3 separate regions of the Homo sapiens genome follow, and all the other regions are linked to region 2. Evidence: promoter capture Hi-C in human tissues and cell types (Jung and others, 2019). All regions are on one chromosome and are shown on one strand. The core of a region is centred on a gene start or on the middle of the fragment in contact, and the rest is flanking DNA. Distances in the headings are between cores, read along the strand shown. Region 1 overlaps BDH1 (3-hydroxybutyrate dehydrogenase 1). Region 2 holds the start of PIGZ (phosphatidylinositol glycan anchor biosynthesis class Z (Gwada blood group)). Region 3 holds the start of LINC02012 (long intergenic non-protein coding RNA 2012).

The links. The method cuts DNA at HindIII sites, captures the fragments that hold promoters and counts their contacts. A contact is called where the count stands out against the background at its distance.
Region 1: a fragment that was not itself captured here is called in contact with the fragment with the promoter of PIGZ in region 2 in 2 of the 25 tissues and cell types used here (dorsolateral prefrontal cortex and lymphoblastoid cells).
Region 3: a fragment that was not itself captured here is called in contact with the fragment with the promoter of PIGZ in region 2 in 1 of the 25 tissues and cell types used here (dorsolateral prefrontal cortex).

Annotation. Positions count from the first base shown.
Region 1 is chr3:197,531,888-197,536,267 of GRCh38, reverse strand. It overlaps BDH1 (3-hydroxybutyrate dehydrogenase 1), which reads left to right. Exons shown (of 8, transcript NM_203314.3): 4 at 2,707-2,779; 5 at 3,746-3,856. Among named protein-coding and RNA genes, the nearest start is that of BDH1, 22 kb to the left of the region's middle. The HindIII fragment of the contact is 6,211 bases long and covers 1-4,380 here.
Region 2 is chr3:196,966,325-196,970,967 of GRCh38, reverse strand. It overlaps PIGZ (phosphatidylinositol glycan anchor biosynthesis class Z (Gwada blood group)), which reads left to right and starts at 2,135. Exons shown (of 3, transcript NM_025163.4): 1 at 2,135-2,281. It overlaps LOC124906255 (collagen alpha-1(I) chain-like), which reads right to left and starts at 1,835. Exons shown (of 3, transcript XM_047449439.1): 1 at 1,719-1,835; 2 at 756-1,572; 3 at 1-667. The coding sequence starts at 1,835. The coding sequence ends at 757. RefSeq lists silencers at 796-1,015, 1,026-1,345, 1,456-1,515, 1,626-1,685, 1,696-1,905 and 1 more and enhancers at 951-1,486, 1,487-2,022, 2,023-2,558. The HindIII fragment of the contact is 30,202 bases long and covers 1-4,643 here.
Region 3 is chr3:197,508,325-197,512,832 of GRCh38, reverse strand. BDH1 (3-hydroxybutyrate dehydrogenase 1) reads left to right here. Exons shown (of 8, transcript NM_203314.3): 8 at 469-3,050. The coding sequence ends at 938. It overlaps LINC02012 (long intergenic non-protein coding RNA 2012), which reads left to right and starts at 3,172. Exons shown (of 1, transcript NR_145451.1): 1 at 3,172-4,508. RefSeq lists an enhancer at 544-1,081 and a silencer at 4,341-4,508. The HindIII fragment of the contact is 6,420 bases long and covers 1-4,508 here.

The DNA.
Region 1 (4,380 bases), core at 1,773-4,272, 560 kb before region 2:
AATCAAAATAGAAAATCCAGAAATAGGCCCACCCAAATATGCCCAACCAATTTTTGACAAAAGTGCAAAAGCAATTCAATAGAGGAAAGATAACGTTTTCAAAAAATGGCGCTGGAGCAAATGGACACAAAACTTAGACCTAAGTCTGACGTCTTATACAAAAATTAATGGATCATAGACTTAAGAAGTAAAACATAAAACTATAAAACTTTTTTTTTTTTTGAGACAGGGTCTCCCTCAGTCCCCCAGGCTGGAGTGCAGTGGTGCAATCTCAGCTCATTGCAACCTCTGCCTCCTGGGCTCAGTTGATCTTCCTGCCTCAGCCTTCCAAGTAGCTGGGACTTAAAGGCGTGAGCCACCACACCTGACTAATTTTCGTATTTTTTGTAGAGATGGGGTTTCGCCATGTTGCCCGGGCTGTTCTCGAACTCCTGAGCTCAAGCAATCTGCCCACCTCAGCCTCCCAAAGCGCTGGGATTACAGGCATGAGCCACCATCCCAGCCAAAACTATAAAACTTTTAGAAAAGAACATAGAAGAAAATCTTTGGGTCCTGGGGGCAAAGAGCTCTGAGACTTGACATCAAAAGCATGCCGCATAATAGGAAAATACTAGACTTTATTTAGGGGTTAAGAGTTTAGACTCTGGACTCTCTCAGCCTTGGTTTCACTAGTTAGCTCTATCACTAACTACATTGGGCATTGAAAATTCCTCTGTTGTCCCACGTGGTGCATGGATGATTGTAGACGAGGACACTGAGATCCTGAAGGCAGAAGTAATTTCTCTAAGCAACGTTGTTGGTTGGTGGCAGAGTCTGGGTTACAACCCCTGGTTTCCTGATTCCGAGTCCAAGTGAAATACTTTTGCCCCTGCAGTAGACCCTGCTACAGAGGATAAAAAGGCACGTCATAGGCTAGGAGAAAAATTTTGCCTACCACATATGTAACCAAGGACTAGCAGCTAGGACATCTGAAGAATTCTCAACATTCAACGGGGTAGAAGAATGAACGATTCAATAGAATATGGGCAAAAGACATGAAGAGGCATTTTACCAAACATAGGGTGCTATGGTCCGAATGTTTGCATTCTCCTCAAATTCCTGTGTTGAAATCCTAACCCCCAAGGTATTGGTATTAGGAGGCAGGGGCCCTGGGAAGTGATTAGGTCATAAAGGTGGAGTCCTCATGGATGGGATTAGTGTCTTTATAAAAGAGACCTTTGCCATGTGAGGTTACAGTGAGAAGACATCTGTCTATGAAGAAAGTGGGCCCTCACCAAACACAGTCTGCTGGCACTTTGCACTTCAACTCCCCAGCTTCCAGAACTGTAAGGAATATAAGTCTGTTGTTGGTAAGCCACCCGGTCTATGATATTTTGTTATAGCAGCCCAAACAGACTAAGACAGGTGACAAATAAACATGAAAAGATGTTCAACATCATTAGCCATTAGGGAAATGCAGATTAAAACCACAGCGAAATATCATGATACAGTTTTCAGCATGGCTAAACTAGAAAATAGTGACACCACCAAATGCCGACAAGGCTGTGGGGAAACTGGGTTGTTCAGACACTGCCACTGGGGCTGTAGCGTACTATAGCCACTTTCATAAACAGTTTGTCAGTTTCTTAAAAAACTAAACCTGCAACTACCATATGACCCAGCAATTACACCCCTGGGCACCTACCCAAGAGAAATGAAAACTCAACGTTTGCGCAAAAACCTGTGTAGGAATGTTCAAGCAGCTTTATTCATAATATGCCCAAACAGGAAACAACTCAGCTGTCCTTCAGTAGGTAAATAGTTAAGCAAATTGTCATACCCCTGTGTCATGGAGCACTACCTAGCAATAACAAGGAGCAAATTATTGATACATAACAATCTGGATGAATCTCCAGAGAATTATGTTGAATGAAAAAAGCCAGCCCCTGAAGGATACATACTGTATGATGCCATTTACATAACATTCTTGAAATTCTAAAATTACAGAGATGGGGAACAGATTTGTGGTTAAAGATGGAGCCGGGTGGGAAGAAAGTAGGTGTGGCTATAAACGGGTAACATGAAGGATCCTTGTGGTGATGGAAATTTCTGTATTTTTATTGTATCCGTGTCAGTATCCTGGTTGTGATATGGTAATACAGTTTTGCAAGATACTACCCTTAGGGGAAATGAGGTAAGACCTGGCATCTCTCTGTATTATTTCTTAATTGCATGTGAATCTACAATTATTTCAAAATAAAAAGTATGATTGAAGTAACTCTCAGGAAGCTTAGCCTACTGTGGATTAAGACATCAAAATTGCAGCAGGCTTTAACAAAGCTATACTACTACAAGGATAGTTCACACTTGAATTAGCTTGAAACATTACCTATCCATGTCATCTTGGAAAGCAGAAAATGGAACTTTATTGGAGTGGGACACTGGATGGCCAGGGTTTAGCAGAGCCTGCCCAACAAAAGTAGCTTCAGAATTGGCTTTATTCTCAGGAAGGCTCTTCCTGGACAGTGGCAAACATAGCCATAGCAAATACTGGCTCACTTTCTATCAGCCAGCAACCCTGGTGGAAAGAGGGCCTCTTACTCAGTTGTACCAGCAAGCTGTCTCCAGGAGCCGGGGCTGGAGAGACACCCAGTGCTGCTCTAGGCCAGTGTGGCTGAGGGTCTGTCTAGTCTGTCCTTGTACTCACGGCTTCCTTTTCTCTTGCAGACGCCCACTATTGCTTGGTTCTACTTCCTTTATCCCGATTGGCCGTCGGACTTATGCCAGTGCGGCGGAGCCGGTGAGTGGAAGCCCAGCTACCCGGGAGCCAGTTGGATGGTCAGAACCCTTTCTTCTGGGCCCCTAGGCCCTGAGCTACCCTCAGAGTGGGGCCTTAGTGTTTCCAGGACACTGGGAGCCACTTTCTCACTTAACCCTCCCCCAAAGCCCCTCATCAGTAATGAGCTCACACACCCCCATCCATGTGGGGAGGAAGCAGTAATGAGGCACTCCAGCCCCTCCCAGCCAGGAAGGTATCACTGGAGGCCTAGGTGGGGGGCGAGAACTCCCAGCCCCACCCAGCAAGTTAGGGGTTAAGAGTTTAGACTCCGGAGGCCCAGGGCGGTGGCTCCCGCCTGTAATCCCAGCACTTTGGGAGGCCGAGGTGGGTGGATCAACTAAGGTAGGGAGTTCAAGACCAGCCTGGCCAACATGGAGAAACCCCATCTCTACTAAAAATACAAAATTAGCCGGGCGTGGAGGTGCATGCCTGTAATCCCAGCTACTTGGGAGGCTGAGGCAGGAGAACTGCTTGAACCTGGAAGGTGAAGGTTTTGCGGTGAGCCGAGACTGGCCATTGCCCTCCAGCCTGGGCAACAAGAGCCAAACTCCATCTCAAAAAAAAGAAGAAGAGTTTAGACTCTGGAATCTCTCAGCCCTGGTTTCAGTTCCAGCTCTATCACTAGCTACATTGAGCGTTTTAAAAAGACCTCTGTTTCTCACATGTAGCATGGGGGATTGTAGATGAGATCCTGAAGGCAGAAGTAATTTTCCCAAGCAACATTGCTGGTTGGTAGCCGAGTCTGGGTTAGAACCTGGCCTTTCCACTATACCATGGTGCTTCTCCAGACAACAAGAACAAGGTAGGGAGGGCCAGGCTTGGGCCACTCAGGAAGCACTAACTCTCACTGCACAGAGGGTGGAGAGGCCTGGTCACTTTGCCCCTGTACCACCGGTTCCTAACATGGAATCTGACCTTGTAAAACAGGTTGGCAGCAAAGCTGTCCTGGTCACAGGCTGTGACTCTGGATTTGGGTTCTCATTGGCCAAGCATCTGCATTCAAAAGGCTTCCTTGTGTTTGCTGGCTGCTTGATGAAGGTAAGAGACGAGTTATCTTCTTCACCATTGTCTTTTACACATAGTCATTGTTTTTTAGTCTTTTAAAAAGTGCTTTCCTAACAACTGGCTCACCTTTGCTTAAACCAGCCTGTCCATTTTCCATCGGCTTCAGTCCCACTTGTTCTTCATAGCTTTGTCCATCCATCATCCATGCATCCATCCATCCATCCATCCTCTCATCTATCCATCATTCGTCAAATGCTATGATGTACCTGACACTTTGCTAGGTGCAGTAGAAGAATGAGACCTTGTCCCTGCCCTGAAGTTGCTCCCTGTCGAGTGGTGAGGAGACAGCCATGCATAGACACAGCTGAAGAATTCGAGTGAAGCAGATTCTCAGGGGTGTGCGAGAATGTTCGGCGAGACTGTGTAGGAGGAAGGGATTGATGATGGCATGCCAGAGGAAGTGACATTTGTTCTGGGCCATGGCGAGTAAATAACACTGCCACAGGTGGAGACTGGGAGGAGTTACCTGCTGGACGGGAGGAATAGCCTGGGCAGAG
Region 2 (4,643 bases), core at 886-3,385:
AGAGAGCAGCTATCTTGGTAGGAATAAACTAGATACAGGTCAGACAAGAAGCACAAGGAGATCTGCCAGGATAAATATGTCTCCTGGGAGAGGGACACCCGGTCACAGGTCAGCCAGGATACAGAGGTGCCCCATGAAAGGCCCACGGCAAACACCCACGCCCAAATCCCAGGAGCCCTGTCAGGGCAGAGTTGGCCTTTACAGTGGCTCTCCAGGGAGGTCTCAAGACCAAGGTAGAGGAAAATACAACACACACACGCCACACGGGCGACGCTCAGCTGCATGGTGCCAAGCGAAGAAAGCCAGGCACAAAAGACCACACGGTGAATGGTTCTCCTTGCATGCAATTGCGAGAGAGGCAAAGGGCAGTGACAGAAATCAGAGGAGCAGTTGTCTGGAACCAGGGCGGAGGGGAGGTGAGGGGTTAGCTGCAGAGGGGCAGGAGGGTACTTTTGGGAGGAGAGGACTTCTTGAACTCGGGGGGAGACTAGCCTGGTGGTTTCGCGTGTCAGAAGTCATGGAACTGAGCCGGGCATGGTGGCGGGGCCTGTGGTCCCAGCTGCTCGGGAGGCTGAGGCAGGAGGATCGCTGGAGCCTAGAAGTTCAAGGCTGCGGTGAGCCGAGATCGTGCCACCGCACTCCAGCCTGGGCGACAGAGACCCTGTATCTAAAAAATAAAGGAAAAAATTCATGGAACTGTATACTTCCATGTACTGTACTTAAATTTCCTGGTATTTATCGTATGTATAGAATACCTCACATCTTAATAAAGTCGTCGTTTTTAGTGTGAGGGGTGCTATGGGGCACGGAGGGCGATCCGGCTGCCGACCCTCGGCGGCGGCGCGGGAGTGCGAGGCCGGCGGGGAGGTCGGGTCCTGCGGCCTCGCCGGGGCCCCTGCAGCGCTCTCCCGCCAGGGGGCAGCGTCGGGCCGGCGGCGCGGGCGGGAAGCTCCAGCGGCCGGGACGCGGTGGTGCCGTCTTCCCCCTGCGGTGAGGGACCGCGTCGCGCCACCCCGCTCTCAGCGCAGCCCGCAGCGGCGAGGCCACCGGGTGGGACACGGGTGCCCGCGCGTCGCGCCGCAGCTCGCGGGGACCTGGCGCCCCGTCCCGGGAGGGGATCTGGCCCCCGGGCGCCGGCTCTCCGTCCACGCGGCGTCCTCCCTGCAGCCCGCTAGGGCCGCTCGCCCGTCGCCGCCTGCGGAACGCGGAGGGGCAGCACGGCCACGCCCGGCCACTCGAACCTGCTCCCCGGCGCCGCGTGACCGTGTCAGGTCCCCGTCGGCCTCGCCGTGCCGACCCCGGGCGCCTCCACAGTGGCTCGGAGGCCGCTGCTGCCCGGATGCCCGGGTTCCACGAGGCTCTCCCAGCCCGACAAGCCCGCCGATCCCACGGGCACGGGCGGAGGAGAGGGAACCGCCGCGCCCGCCCCGCGCGCCGTCGCCGACCCCGGTGGGTCGCGCTTCCCCGCGCACGCCGCGCTCTGGCGCGGGGAGAGGCCCCTCGGGGTCCGCCCGGGTCAGCGTCCCGCGGGGGTGGCGGCCGTTCGCTCAGCCTCCTCTCGACTTCCCTTTCCTGTCAGGGCTGCTGGGGCTGACAGGCTCCCGGGCAACCACGCCGGGGAACCCCTCACGCCCGCCGATCGCTGCGGGGCTCAGCAGCCGCCCCGTGCGCTGAGTCCCCTGTCATGAGTGACTCCATTGCGAGGCGTTTCGGGCCACGAAGCAGGACCGGGGGCCGCACTCCGGGTCCCCGCCCTGCCCTCGCCGACCTCCCGCGCGTGGAAGGGGGACGGCGGCGGCGGAGCTCCCCGCCACGGAGAACCCCGAAATGGTCATTTCGAACGAGAGGAGTGTGGCCTGGGGTGTCTGGTTTAACAGCCCCCCGCGCCGAAAGGCTGTTCGCCGAGGAGGGGCCGCCGGGGAGGGAGCCCGAGCGCGGCGGGGCGAGACCGGTCCCCGCCCGGCGTTGCCCGGCCCGAGGGACGGCGGCGCCCCCAGGACCCTCCCCAGCGCGGCCCCAGCTCGCTCCGGGACCGCGGGGCCAGGCCGGGCGGGAGCGCGGGGACGTACACGGCGGCCCCGCCCGCGCGCTCCTCCTCCCTCCCGGCCCGCCCTGCGCCGGCGGCGGCGGCCCCAGTCTCCGCGCTGCTGAGGCGCGCCCGGCCGCTCCCACGGCCTCCCCTCCGCCCTGCGGTCCCGCCGCCTCCGGGGCCTCCTGGGACCCTGGCCCTCGCCGGGCAGGACGCCGCCAGCGCTGAAGGCGCAGCCCGGAGGCCGCGCGGGTGAGTCGGTGCGCAGCCCCAGCGGCTCCAGAGGAGCGGGTGCGGGGAGGGCGAGCGGACCAAGTCGGCCGCGTTCCCACCTTGCGCGCAGCCGGGAGACCAGCAGGCCCAGCCTCTAGGGAGGAGGGCAGGGGAGCTGGGGGCCGCCCCCCGCATTCTCGCAGGCACCTGTCCCTAGGCCGGGGTCCGCTGGCTCGAAGCACTGACCCGCCCCGGACCTAGGGGGACGGAGGCAGCGGTGACATTTGCCCAGGAAGGGCGGCAGTGGGTAAACTCCACTCCAGGGCACGGGTCTGGGCGCAGGTTGAGGCCTGGGGTTGAATCTGCTTCTGCTAGAGGCCAGTGTTCTCAGGGAGGCCCATAACCCGACTGGGTCTCAGTTCCCCCTGGTATGAAACAGCAACAGGGCAAGAGGAGGAAACCATGCCACGCTGCAAAGCTCTGAGCACGAAGCCGAGAAGAATCTCGGCTCCCGGCCTCGGGGGCTGCACTTCGGGCCAGGCCTGCACTCCCAGGATAAGAGGATGGCCTCCTGCCCCAGGGGTGGCATGGGGGCGCGCAAAAAGCAAAGGTGACCCTGCCAGGGAGCACCCAGCGCTCCGGTTGGTGGTCATGGGGTCTTTGCGTGGGACTCACAGTGTGGCCGGGAAAGTTCTGTAATGAGGACATTTCTCATCATTCCTTCTTCTCAAAAGTCATTCGTCAGCCCCAGACACCTTTGCCTCGGAAAACTGAGAACTACTTTCAAAATCGTCAACACCCCCATCTCCTGCTACAGAGCGGAGTCCCCACTTTGCAGAGGCGCACTGCAAGGTCGCGGGTGGTTAAATGGTGCGCCCTCCTTGATGAAGATGCCTTGTTCTCTTTCACTCTCTATGTGTGTTTAATGTTGTGTGTTGCGTTCTCTGTGAAGCGAAGGATAAACACGGGCCCTTTCAGGCAACCGAAGGAAGAAGGCGGCCAGCATCAGATCTTCCCGTGCTTCAAGGTGGAGCACCCTGCAGGGCTTACTGCAGCGCTCAGGGTCAAAGTGAGGATGCAGTGCGGCACCAAAAGGCAAATGGACTCTGGAGAGCCACTCTCACCTTGTACCCCTGGAGTAGACCCCGAGGACTGGAGGACTGGAACAAGATCTTAGTCCTGAGGGCGGGAGAAGCAGCCTTTGGTGGTTGCACAGGGGCCCGGCTTTTCCCGAAGTCTTAAAGCCTGCTCCAAATGCCAGATTCAGACAAAGGGGCCGAACCTTGGGCCCGCCGCCTTCTCCCATAAGCGGCAACCCAGCAGCTTTGCCAGGAAGTTTACATGTGAAGGTACGGACCTTTCTTGGAATGAGCCACACCTGATGGCCCTGCCACTCCGGACGGCGCTCGTTCACGGCTGTCCCTGGAGCAGACACGGTTCTGCGCACACACCTGGGCGCCGGAGAAACAGGGCACCCAAAGCGGGCCCAGGCCCTCGGACTCAGCGAGCTGGACACGTGTCCCCATCACCCGCGGCTGGCGGGAGCAGTGTTTCTACTCCCTTCCCTCCCCTCCTCCCGCCCCGCAGATGTGCTGTCTTTCCCGGCCTCCCCCCGCGCCCAGCACAGTGGTTTCTGCTTGGCTGTTCCCCTGTCTCTGAGATGGTCTCTCCCTGCTGCTTGCCCTACACATTCTCCCACACAGGCGCGCGGGATGCCCCTGTCGGCGTGGTTGTCAATGCCTGCTCCCCTGCCCCCCAGTCCAATCTCCACGACTCTGGGCCCTGTCGCTTCATCCTAAAGCCTTCCGCTCACGAGCCCTCCCGACGACCGACCCCCAGGAGGCTACTGGAGATGCAGGATTTGGACCCGTGCTGGACCCGCACCCGGACAGATCCCTCTGAATGAATGAATGAATTAATGAGCAGGCTGCATCCTGATTAGGTTAAGGTGGGTGGTTGCCATGCTTGGCGTTGGCTCTGTCCCCTGGGATAAAAGGCGAGAGGCAGCCACATGGACAGCTCCTCCAGTGGGGTCTCAGACTGGAGAGACGCCAGCGGGCGGGGGTCGTTCCCTGGAGCTCCCGCATTTGTTATGGTCGATGCCCCACTACGTTGTCACCTTCTCCGGAGGACCTCCTGCTCTGTCCTTGACAGATGGGCCCCAGTGGGCCCACCCAGGCTGGAGATGAATCTCAAAGGGACTCCATGCCTGGGAGACCTCAGCCAAGCAGGGCAGAGAAATAATCAGACAACAGTCAGCGCATGGCGCCTGCAGAGTTTTGCACAGGGTCCTTCAGAAGGAGGGTTAGGGAAGACTTCTTGGGGGTTAGGGCAGTTAAGCAAGATGGATAAAGAAAGCAACCACTTATGTCTGCATATTTTCTTCATTTCATCTTCACAA
Region 3 (4,508 bases), core at 1,388-3,887, 540 kb before region 2:
TGCACGTCGTACTACTGGAGCTGGACTTTAAGCTCCATAAGGGGAAGGGGAAGCTTTCAGGCTGTATTTCTCCCTCACCAGCACCAGACCTTGCCTATAGTGAAAGCTCAGATCCACACAGACAGCTGTCTCGCCTCCCACTTCTCCCCTCGTGTTTTCACCCCAAATTATCACCGCATCGGGCTTGATCTGGTTTTTGAGTCAGTTGCGTGTTGCCCATTACACTGTGCCCTGCTGCTTCTCACTCACTTGTCCTCCCCTGTCCTGCCTGGCACAGCCAGGTTCCCAGGGAAGACCAGGGGTGCCGATGCTGATGCGTGGGCCTGAGCTGGCCTTGCCTATTGACTGAGAAGGCTCCTGGGTGGCTCAGAAGTGGTTCCAGCCAAGCCTCTAGAGACATGCCAGACTTCTGCCCGCTGTGTCATAGGGCAGTAACGGCTTAGCAGGTACCTCTGTCTCCCTCTGTAGGCCGCGTCGTCAATATCAGCAGCATGCTGGGCCGCATGGCCAACCCGGCCCGCTCCCCGTACTGCATCACCAAGTTCGGGGTAGAGGCTTTCTCGGACTGCCTGCGCTATGAGATGTACCCCCTGGGCGTGAAGGTCAGCGTGGTGGAGCCCGGCAACTTCATCGCTGCCACCAGCCTTTACAGCCCTGAGAGCATTCAGGCCATCGCCAAGAAGATGTGGGAGGAGCTGCCTGAGGTCGTGCGCAAGGACTACGGCAAGAAGTACTTTGATGAAAAGATCGCCAAGATGGAGACCTACTGCAGCAGTGGCTCCACAGACACGTCCCCTGTCATCGATGCTGTCACACACGCCCTGACCGCCACCACCCCCTACACCCGCTACCACCCCATGGACTACTACTGGTGGCTGCGAATGCAGATCATGACCCACTTGCCTGGAGCCATCTCCGACATGATCTACATCCGCTGAAGAGTCTCGCTGTGGCCTCTGTCAGGGATCCCTGGTGGAAGGGGAGGGGAGGGAGGAACCCATATAGTCAACTCTTGATTATCCACGTGTGGATTATCCACCATGCCAGGAAGACCCATAACTGGTTTTAACACTAACTAGAGGGAATGACTTCTTTGCATAGTGAGTGACTTGGGCCTTCACAAACAGGGTGTGGAGTGGCAGGCAGAGGCCTCTAAATCTCAGGGCAAACATGGTGAATCTATCTCTCCGGAGATAATTTCATACAGAGATTTTAAGAAAACATCTTTATATTAAAAACAGATCTCATTTGATCCTTAAGCCAGTCTCATGAATGAAAAGGACAGGTTTTTTTCTTTTGTAAATGAAGCATTTGCAGCTTAAAGAGGATGCATGAAATAACCCTTTTATCGCTTATAAATAGTGCCAGTTATGTGTTCCTGCCACGGCTGTGGAAATACTTCACATTTGCATTCCAGGACTGTTTTGGATCCATTTGCCCGAGAATCTTCTGACTAACTCTGTGTCCTCATCTGGGCAGCACACACCAAGTGCCCACTGGTACCTCTGCATGTCCATGGTGCTGTGTGACTGGCCAGCCAGCAGCCAGTGACTCAGAGCTGGCTGTATGGAGGGGGTGGGAATGTTTCTGGAGATTTTTGTTTTTCCAGACACAGTCTTGCTCAGTCCCCTAGGCTGGAGTGCAATGGCACCATCTCCGCTCACTGCAACCTCCGCCTCCCTGGTTCAAGCGGTTCTCCTGCCTCAGCCTTCCAAGTAGCTGGGGTTATAGGCACCCACCACCATGCCGGGCTAATTTTTGTATTTTTAGTAGAGATGGGGTTTCACCATGTTGGCTAGGCTGGTCCCGAACTCCCGACTTCAAGTGATCCGCCTGCCTTGGCCTCCCAAAGTGCTGGGATTACAGGCATGAGATTTTTACTTGAGATTTTTCCATCCTCTTTTAGGACTCAGGATAGACTTGTGTGGAGGTGCTCTCTGGCTAAGGGGATAAGTTGTTACTGGTTTGGGTCTGCTTGGTTTTGCCTTGGGTGGGGCCGGTGTCGATGGGGCAGGCTTGGCACGAGCAGTGGTGCCATGGCAGGGCACTGTGGCATCTCCCCTAGCAGTGGATTTGGGGTCCCTGCTTGCCTCACGTGGTGCTTACACACATGTACACACACACACACACACACACACACACACACACCTTACACACATGTACACACACACACACACACACACACACACACACACACACACACACACACACACACACACACACACACACACACCCCTGTTCTGCAGGGCTTCAGCGTGGCCTTCATTCCCGCCTCGCCTCGGCCTCTTTTCAATTAAGAAGTGATGCCACTTGAGGCAGGGTCTGCATGATCACTTCTTGGGTTTCAGTTTGAAAGCTGCCATCCCTGCGACTGCCCAGGGCCTGTATGTTGGGACCGAAGCCAAACACCACTGTCCTCCAGGGGGCTTTCGGCCCGGGGCAGGGTCCCCAGTGCCCGCCTTCGAATCAGACTCCGCGTTTCCGCCTCTCCCTGGGCGGACCTGCCGCTAGAGGGCGCTCCTCCTCCGCAGCCGGCGCCGGCCTCCAGCGCCCCAGACTCCCGCGCTGCCGCCCGAGCCTGAGGTTTCTCACGGCGTTCGGGATTCGCGCTTCGGAAACCGGGAACAAAGAAGCAAGCAGCACCCTTCAGAAACAGTGTTCTCGCTCTCCTAGCAGCTGGCCCGGGCCCGGAGGCTGGTGCCAGGAGAAGGCAGAAGAGCCCGGGCAGCCGGAGTGGGCTACGGGGTTCAGGCAGTGCCAAGGAAGAAGGGCCTCACAATGGGCAATTCAGCTGCCTCCCGGGCCGTTGTCCCCGCTGTCTTCAAACAGGGGTCCCCTGTCCCAGCTGCCCCAGGAGGAGGGGGGGAGGCAGGCAGGGCCGAAACCCTCCAGAGCCCAGAGGGGGACGCTTGGTGGCCGCTGCAGTTACATAACCATAGGATGCTTTTGTACCGTGGACCTTGTTCTAGCAGGATCCTTTCGGAATTGCACTTTTACATGTTGGGCGAATTTGTGTCCGTGCTGAAGTTTATTAAAGGAAAATAGATGGAGCCTTGGAGTTGCACGTGTGCGTCCCTGCCTGGGAACTAGAGGAAGGAGGGCCACATACTCTGGGTCCCCATCAGCAGACCCGAACGTCAGAGAAGCTGCATGTGCGTCTACTGGGATCTTCTGAGTAAGCTAGAACTGCTGGGCCGGCCTGTGCAGGTTGTTCTGGCTTTTAATCGTTTCCAGTGATTGAAAAGCCCAGGCTACCATCCCTCCAAATAACTCCAGTGCTAACTCAAACCTCATATTCACCATTCACTTTCCGGCAGCTTAGAACCTACCGGGGCGCAGGACGTAGTTTTCGTCTTTACCAGAGTGCGTGGCCGGGCGCGGTGGCTCACACCTGTCATCCCAGCATTTTGGGAGGCCCAGGCGGTCGGATCGCCTGAGGTCAGGAGTTCAAGACCAGCCTGGCCAACGTGGTGAAACCCTGTCTCTACTAAAAGCACAAAAATTAGCCAGGCGTGGTGGTGGGCGCCTGTAACCCCAGCTACTCGGGAGGGTGAGGCAGGGAGAATCGACTGAACCCAGAGGCAGAGGTTGTAGTGAGCCGAGATCATGCCACTGCACTCCAGCCTGGGCAACAGAGTGAGGCTCTGTCTCAAAAAACAAAACAACAACAACAAAACAAAAAAAGAGTGAGAGGACAAAACAGGTGTATATTCCCATTTTATAGATGACATAACTGAGGCCCAAAGAAGGAAAGTGACTCACTCAGTGTCACAGTAAATCCACGGCAGGACCAGGGCCAGAACAAAAGTCTCCTGAGTGGCACTCTTCACTATCACATAACACTGTGGCTCGCAACAGCCCTGGAAGCAAAGCCAGTTGGGGTCACCAGGCACCTAGACCCTCACTGCTTGTCTGCTGGCAGAGAGCCGCTCCTTCTTGTCAGAGTAAGTAGGAAGGAGGCCTTTGCCTGTGCGGACCTATGGTCTGGTGACTCCAGCCAGCACAAACCCATCCCCTGATGGTTGGAGGCTGGGCAAGGGCTTCTTGCAAGATGCGCCTGACAGTGCCTTGTTACAGAGCACCTGCTGTGCTTAGCATTCCACCCGGGGCCAAGAGGCTGTGTGAGCAGGTGACAGCCAGCCTGGCCCCGCCTGTCACAAGCTGCTAGGTCTGCACCCTTGCCACCCATGGCAGGGGGTCTGACAAAGACTCCCCATTTGTGAGGTCTGTTCACTGCCTGTATTTCGAACAGGGCCTGGCTCTGCAAACCTGTGCAAACTGTGTTGATATAGGAGCCGACATGAGCAAGCAGAGGCTCCCCTGGCTCAGGCAGCCCCAGGTTGGGTTGGCCAGACAGCAACCAGGCACAGGGGCCAAGTGCAGGTCCTGCTACCCAGCCACCACAGCTTCCTCTCACCTGATTCTCACAGCAACCCAGGCAGGATAGGCAGGGTGGGGTTATCTTATTTTGCAGAAACAGGCTTTCCCAAGTCTGTCACCAAGTGAGG